Linked DNA regions of Homo sapiens: region 1 is linked to region 2. The links are contacts of gene promoters, found by promoter capture Hi-C in blood cells and fetal thymus (Javierre and others, 2016). All regions are on one chromosome and are shown on one strand. The core of a region is centred on a gene start or on the middle of the fragment in contact, and the rest is flanking DNA. Distances in the headings are between cores, read along the strand shown. Region 1 has its middle 270 kb from the start of AEBP2. Region 2 holds the start of SLCO1C1 (solute carrier organic anion transporter family member 1C1).

Evidence for each region. Contacts are between HindIII fragments. The CHiCAGO score rates a contact against its expected background, and 5 or more counts as called.
Region 1: a contact is called between a fragment that was not itself captured here and the fragment with the promoter of SLCO1C1 in region 2, in 1 of 17 cell types (monocytes). The highest score is 5.3, in monocytes.

The regions. Positions count from the first base shown.
Region 1 is chr12:19,702,628-19,706,794 of GRCh38, reverse strand. No RefSeq gene overlaps it. Among named protein-coding and RNA genes, the nearest start is that of AEBP2, 270 kb to the right of the region's middle. The HindIII fragment of the contact is 4,597 bases long and covers 1-4,121 here.
Region 2 is chr12:20,693,002-20,697,293 of GRCh38, reverse strand. SLCO1C1 (solute carrier organic anion transporter family member 1C1) reads right to left here and starts at 1,962. Exons shown (of 15, transcript NM_017435.5): 1 at 1,487-1,962. The HindIII fragment of the contact is 4,383 bases long and covers 1,867-4,292 here.

The DNA of each region.
Region 1 (4,167 bases), core at 574-3,073, 990 kb after region 2:
GCACAGTACCTGACAGGTAAATTTTTTTTTCTATCATCACCCTCCTCCCATTTTTCACCCTCAGGTAGGCCCTGGTGTCTGTTGTTCCCATCTCTGTGTCCATGTGTACTCAATATTTAGCTCCCACTTATAAATGAGAACATGTAGTATTTGGTTTTCTGTTCCTGCATGAGTTCACTTACGATAATGGCCTCCAGCTCCCACTTATACTTGAGAACATGTGGTATTTCCTTTTCTGTTCCCACATTAGTTCACTTTGGATAATGGCCTCCAAATCCATCTATATTGCTACAAAGGACATGATCTCATTCTGTTTTATGGCTGTATAGTATTCCATTGTGCATATGTGTATATATGCCTGTGTACTATATCCATTACTGGGTATATACCCTTTTAAGCTCTTTGAGAAAGGCTTAACTGCTTTCTACAATAAGTGAACTACTAATAATTTACTTTCCCACCAGCAGTGTATAAGCATTCCCTTTTCTCTACAACCTCACCAGCATCTGTTATTTTTTCACTTTTTAATAACAGCCATTCTCACTGGTATGTGACAGTATCTCATTGTGGTTTTGATTTGCATTTTTCTAATGATTAGTGATGTTGAGGGTTTTTTCACATGCTTGTTGACCGCATGTATGTCTTCTTTTGAAAAGTGTCTGTTCATGTCTTTGTCTACTTTTCAACAGGGTTGTTTTTTGCTTGCAAATTTGTTTAAGTTTCTTATAGATTCTGGATTTTAACCTTTGTTGAATGTGTAGTTTCCAAATATTTTCTCCCATTCCGTAGGTTGTCTGTTTATTCTGTTGATAGGTTTTGTTTGTTTTTGTTTTGGTTTTGCTGTGCAGAAGTACTTTGGTTTGTTAGGTCCCACTTGTCAATTTTTGTTTTTGTTGTAATTATTTTTACCATCTTCATCTCTTCATCATGAAATCTTTGCCAGGATCTGTGTCCAGAATGGTATTTCCTAAGTTTTCTTCTAGGATTTTTAGTTTTAGATTTTACATTAAGTCTTTAACAAATCTCAAGTCGATTTTTGTATATGGTATACAAGAAAGGAGTCCAGTTTCAATCTTCTGCATATGGCTAGCCAGTTTCCCCAGTACCATTTATTGAATACAGAGTCCTTCTCCATTGCTTGTTTCTGTAGACTTTGTCAAAGATCAGATGTTTGAAGGTGTGTACCTCTATTTCTGGGCTTTCTATTCTATTCCATTGTTCTGTGTGTCTATTTTTGTACCAGTACCATGCTATTTTGGTTACTGCAGCCTTGTAGTATCATTTCATGTTGGGTAGTGTGATGTCTCCAGCTTTGTTCTTTTTGCTTAGGATTGCTTTGGCTATTCAGGCTCTTTTTTGGTTCCATATTAATTTTAAAATAGTTTTTTTCTAATTCTGTGAAGAATGTCATTGGTAGTTTGATAGGAATAGCACTGAATCTTTAGATTGCTTTGAGCAGTGTGGCTATTTTGACAATATTGATTCTTCCTATCTATGAGCATGGAATGTTTTTCCATTTGTGTCATCTGATTTCTTTCAGCAGTGTTTTGTAACTATCATTGCAGAGATCTTTCATTCTCTGGTTAGCTGTATTCCTAGGTATTTTATTCTTTTTGTGGCTTTTGTGAATGGGGTTGCATTCTTGATTTGGCTCTCAGCTTGGATGTGGTTGGTGTATGGGAATGCTGCTGATTTTCGTACATTGATTTTGCATCCTGAAACTTTACTGAAGTTGTTTAACAGATCAAGGGGCTTTTGGGCAGAGACTATAGGGTTTTCTAGGTGTAGAATCAGATCATCTGTAAACAAAGATAGTTTGATTTTTCTCTTCCTATTTGGATGCCTTTTATTTCTTTCTCTGGCCTGATTGCTCTGACTAGGACTTCCAGTACTATGTTGAATAGGCATGGTGAGAGTGGACATCCTTTTCTTGTTCTGATTAAGGAGAGTGTTTCCAGCTTTTGTTTGTCCAGTATGATGTTGGCTGTGGGTTTGTGATGGATGGCTCTTATTTTGAGGTATACTCCTTCCATGCCTAGTTTGAGAGTTTTTAACATGAAGAGGTGTTGAATTTTATCAAGTCTTTTCTGCATCTACTGAGATGATAATTTGTTTTCATTTTTAGTTCTGTTTATGTGATGAATGACATTTATTGATTTACATGTTGAACCAACCTTGCAACCCAGGGATAAAGCCTACTTGATTTTCCTGGATAAGGTTTTTTATATGCTTCTGGATTCAGTTTGCTAGTATTTTTCTTGAGAACTTTTGCATTGATATTCATCAAGGATATTTGCCTGAAGTTTTTTTTTTTATTGTGTGTTTGTTTGTTTGTTTGTTTTTTGGTTGTGTCTCTGCCAGGTTTTTGTATCAGAATGATGCTGGTTTCATACAATGAGTTAGGAATGAGTCCCTCCTCCTCAATTTTTCAGAATAGTTTCAGTAGGAATGGTACCAGCTCTTCTTTACATGTCTGGTAGAATTCAGCTGTGAATATGCCTGGGCCTGGAATTTTTTTGGATGGTAGGCTTTTAATTACTGATTCAATTTTGGAACTCAGTATTAATCTGTTCAGAGATTCAGTTTCTTCCTGGTTCAATCATTGGACATTGTACTTTTCCAAGAATTGATCCATTTCTTTGAGGTTTTGTAGTTTGTGTGCATAGAGGTGTTCATAATAGTCTCTGAGGGTTTTTGTACTTCTGTGGGGTCAACGGTAATGTCCCCTTTGTCATTTCTGATTGCATTTGGTGGGGGGGGGGGGGATCTTTTTCTTTTTAGTCTAGCTAGCAATCTAAAATCTTTTTTTTTTTTTTTTTGAGTTTTCGTGTCTCTATTTCCTTCAGTTCAATTCTGATTTTGGTTATTTCCTGTCTTCTGCTAGCTTTGGGGTTGGTTTGCTCTCGTTTTTCTAATTCCTTTAGGTGTGATGTTAGGTTGTTTACATAAAATCTTTCTAACTTTTTGACGGGAGTGTTTACGTGTTATAAACTTTCAACAGTGCTTTAGCTGAGTCCCATAAATTCTGATATGTTGTATCTTGCTCTCATTATTTTCAAAGAATTTCTTTATCTCTGCCTTAATTTCATTGTTTTTCCAAAACTTATTCAGGAACAAGTTGTGTAATTTCTATGTAATTGTAAGGTTTTGAGCAATCTTCTTAGTATTAATTTTTATTTTCATTGCACTGTGGTCTGAGAGTGTGGTTGGTATGATTTCTATTTGCTGAGGCTTGCTTTATGTCTGATTGTGTGGTCAGTTGTAGAGTAAGTACCATGTACAGATAGATGAGAAGAATGTACATTCCATTGTTTTGGGTGGAGAGTTCTGTAGATGTCTATTAGGTCCATTTGGTCAAGCATCAAGTTCAGTTTACAAATATCTTGGTTTTCTGCCTCAGTGATCTGTCTAATACTGTCAGTGGGGTGTTAAATTCTCCCGCTATTATTGTGTAGTTATCTGTGTCTCTTACACTTAGCTAGGTCTCTGAGGATTTGCTTTATTAATCTAGGTGCTCCTGTGTTTGGTGCATGTGTATTTTGAATAGTTAGGTCTTCTTGTTGAACTAAACCCTTTATCATTATGTAATGCCTTTTTTGTCTCTTTTGATTGTTGTTTAAATGTCTGTTTTGTCTGAAATTAGAATAGCAATCCCTGCTTTTTTCTGTTTTTTTATTTGCTTAGATTACTCTCCATTCCTTTACTTTGAGGCTCTGGGTGTTATTGCATGTTAGATGAGTCTCTTGAAAACAACACAAAATTGGTTCTTGCTTCCTTATCAAACTTTCCTCTCCGTGTCTTTTAATTGGGGCATTTAGCCCATTTACATTCAAGATTAATATTGATATGTACAGATTTGATGCTGTCATCTTGTTGTCAGCTGGTTATAATACTGACTTGATTGTGTGTTTTTGTTGTTGTTGTTGTTTGGTTTTATTTATTAATTTATTTTAGTGTTTATGTTCTATGTTCTTAAGTGTGTTTCCATGGTGGCCAGTAATGGTCTTTTTGTTATTTAGTACTGCCCTGAGGGCCTCTTGCAAAACAGGTCTGGTGGCAACAAATTTTCTTAGCATTTGCTTGTCTGAAAAGAATCTTATTTCTCCTTTGCTTATGAAGCTTAGTTTGCTGCATATGAAATTCTTGGTTGGAATTTCTCAAGAATGC
Region 2 (4,292 bases), core at 713-3,212:
TAATTCAAATTGGCCTTCTGTTTTTGGGGATTCAGATATCATATTATTTCTCATCAGTCATAATATTAAAGTCAGTGACCAGAAAATACAAATAAATTGTTTAATAATAAAATCTGCTATCATTTATCCTAAATTTATCTTTAAAAGATCCAAAGTGTTACATCTAGAATGCTAATGTCAAAGAGAAAAAATAATTATGTTAAAAACACTACTGAAAAACTTGAGATACTATAGCACATTTTAAGTTATCTAATATATGGAGGTGTTGACACAAAAATCACTGTAACTAAAATTCAAAAGTATAATGAAATATAAATATAGTCATCTCAGTTCACTTTGTGTTAGGGCAAAATAGGATCCAGCTTAAACTATTGGCACTGCATAGCTTTACTGAAGTGTCTTGATGGTTAATGCGCAAATTATTGCAAGTGTAGTATGTTCCAAGGAGGCTACAGTTCATCCCCTGTAAAAAGAGAGGGAAGGAAGCTCAATGACATGAACGGAAAGATCCTTGGGGCCTGCAGGCTCTCTCTCTTCATTTGCAACTGCAGAAGTAGAGCAAGAGTACACAGTTATTCAGAATTATTTGCATTTGGCAAATCCTTAATTGATCTCTGGCCACTTGAATAGATTCTTCCAGGAAAAGACATACGACAGTTTTCATCCAATACCCTGGGTTTGGAGCATAACTTATTCTGGAGGCCAAAGAAAAACAAGCCAAGCAGTTTCTCTTCCTTTGGTTCAAAAACATTGAATAATCAGTCCTCATTAGTTTCAAAATCAGCCCTCCAGATTTTAAATGGAGAGAGCAAGTGGCTTAGGAAGGTTGTAGTTAGATCCCGCAGATGTACTCAACCCCTCTGCTCTGCAACTGACTCGGACTCTGTCCAGCAATCAGTCCCCAAGGACTGCCACAGAGAAAGTCCTAAAGGCAACCACGCTCCTCCCTCTCTTCTCTTGGCCATCTCCTGTGAGGAAAACCTCTGTCCTGGCTTGACTTCTGGACACCAGGATGCCTCCCTTCAGACAAACTAAAAAATAGCCTCACGGCACTTGCTGCAGAGGAGTGTGTGTTGTTTAGAAACTAATTTCTCACCTAATACAAATTATCTGTGTCAGATTCAGATTTAATAAGTACTATTTTTGTGTTGAGTAATGTACGTACTTTTTCTAATCCTTAAAACAACCCAACAAACGTAATATTAGAATTCCATTTTTTAAATTAGATGGCCCAAAGCAATTAAGTGACTTGTCAAAAGCTAAACAATTTATAAGCATGAGACTCAAAATTTGAACTCAAATTTGAGTTTATCTGATTTCTTTAACCAATCTTCTCTCTTATTTCCATCAAACTAATGAGGGGATCATCACCTTTCACTGATATTTTTATGGATAAAACATAAATCGCACAGAAATTAAGGGTTAATCTCCCATAAGAATCTGATGTATTAGTCACAAAATATAAAATGAGAGAACCAAGTCTTACCTGGAGGAAGAGATCAAAGATAGCCAGTTCCTTTCAATGTGCTCAGCAAGAGGATGGACCACACACCACAGACTGAAAGAGGAAACTGAGGTAAACTCCACAGCAATTTTGAACAATTTTGCCAGGTGGGGAGAGTGTGGGTGGACACAAGCAGAGGAGATTAGGGAAAAGAAAAGATGAAGGGCATGGTCTCACCCCTGAGCGATCTCTTCTCTTTCCTCTTTCTTCCTGGCCTCTTTTTTCTGGCAGTCAGCAGAGAATTGGCCACGCTGGCAAGGCCACTGACGTGCATCTCAGCTCCCAGGGCACAGAAAGAGCTGAAGCTTTTGAGCCATTTCTTTGCAATTTGCTGCAAGTTTAAGGCCACACGTGATAAAGCTTTCTTTATGGGAGAGAGTGAATAAAAGAAAAGACCACTTGTGATCTTACTTGCTGATTCCCAGAAAACACAACTCCGCAGGGGGCAGAGGGTAAGGAACAGAAGCCAGAGGAGGGCGGAAGTTTATAACAGAGACCCCTCCTCCTTCCAGAAAGTTTTTAAGCCAACTATTCCTTAGGGACATCACTGGGATCCTTGTGTTTTCTTTGTTTGTGTGTTTTGGTTTTGGTTTGTTTTGTTTTGTCTTTAACGGTTCTTGGGCTAATTTGCTACATGGTTTTCTTTTCCATTGGTGTTCTAGAATCTTTAAGGACCAAGTATCAGGTCACAATCAAAGCTCTGCAGCGCTCTGTACAAAAAGAGTTAATTCTCAGAGACATGATCAGTTGCTCATATTTACAATTTCTATGAGTTTTGAAAACAGAAAAGAAACACGTTGAATTTTTGGCATTCAATTGTTTATTCTGCCTAATTCCAAGGATAAATAAATCCTTGCACTGAGAAAGTCCACAATTCTAATACATTCTTTTTCCAAGAGAAAAACTTTAGAGGATCTTAAGCAGTAGTAGTTTGCATTTATTTTCTACCAATAAATAAATTTGCTACCAGAATTATCCAAGATTCACCCTACTCTTAAGTGGCTGAGACTCTGGGATGGTCACTTAATTTTACTGAGTCTCAACTTCTTCCTTTGTAAAGCAGAATTTTTTTGTTTAAAAAAAAAAAAAACAGATTTATAGGGCTGTTTTAAGGATTAAATTATATAATGTATTCAAAAGCACATTGCAAATGAGCGGAAGGTATCATCATTTTATATATATATATATTTAGTTCACATAATGGTCAGAATAGTTAATATTATTCAAGCACATTTTACTACAAAAGAAAGAAAAGAAAATGCAAGAAAAATGGGTTTATATTAAACCTTGCAATGAAGCAATGGTGTTTTCACACTCTGAAAGGCCAAATATTTTACTTTAACAATCAAACCAGACTTTTCCATCGGAAATAGTGAGCAAACATCCGAATACATTGAGTGTTAGTCTAGACTTCTCAGTGTCTAACAGGTGGCCAGACCACTGTTTTATTCAAGAGGAGACAGTATTTACCAGCCCAAAGGGCATAATTTTCCTCACCAAGAAATGAAATTCTCCCTTGAGAATGTAATTTTGTCTATTCCCAACTGGCTCAGTCTCACTCTCCAACACGATTCCTTTTCTTATTTCCAGAGTCCACAGTTAATGTTACTGTTTTGAATGCACATAATGTTTACACTTATTCAGAGCTTCTTATGTGCAACCTTGCATTGGATTGTAGCCTACTTCAGCCTTTCATTCCCATTTCCAAACTCTAGATGAGGGAGTTAACAAACTTCTATAAAGGGACAAATAAGAAATATTTTAGGTTTTGTAGGACCATGCAATCTCTATCACAACCACTCACCTCTGCCATTCTGGTGGTAAATTAACCACAGACAACATATAAATGAATGCATTTCCTAAGACTGCACTAACAAAGTACTACAAGCTGAGTGACCTAAAACAGAACTTTATTGTCTCACACTTTTGGAGGCCAGAAGTCAAAAATCAAGGTGTCAGCAGAGCCATGCTCCCTCTGAGACCTGTAGGGAAGAATCCTCCTTACCTCTTCCACCTCCTGGTGTTTGCTGACAGCCTGAACTCCTTGTTTTATAGGTGTATCACTCCAACAGCTGCTTCTGTTACCACATGGCCATCTTCTCCCTTTATGTCTCTGTCCTCTGTACTTAAAAAAACGCTAGTCATCTTTGGCTGGGGACCACCCTCATGACCTCATCTTAACTTGATAAGGTCTGCTAAGACTCTCTTTTCAGGAAAGGTGACATTCACAGGTACCGGGGGTTAGGACTTCCTCATATCTTTTTGGGAGACACAATTCAAGCCAGTACACTCATATTTTCATTTTCCTCCTTACTTGAATTTTTTCATGCAATTATTTTAATCACTTCCTTCTGTATACCCTCAATTCTCCTGTTTCTCTTTCAATTTATTGATCTTCCCAGGCAAAGCTCACCTCAGATAAATCCACTTTCTTTCTTCTTAGTATTTGCATCCGCACTGTTTTAAGTGATTGAAGAACAACTCAGTAACATGCCCTTAGGGCTTATTTTATATTTATAACCACTAAACTCACTGAGTCATAGAGGCATTGCTAGACGTAATACTTTTTAATGACCCAATCACTTTACCTCTCTCAAATCTTCATTTCTGGCTGCACCCTGATTATTAGCTGATGATCTTGTCTAGGAAATTCACTAACTAAACAGAAATATCAGGAGAAATATTATACTCTGTCCTCATGACATCTACTCTCTACCCAAATGTACATTGCTATTAGCTGTCTTCCTTCTTGCTCCTACAGTCCATGTTTCTAAGCCCAAACTTTAGT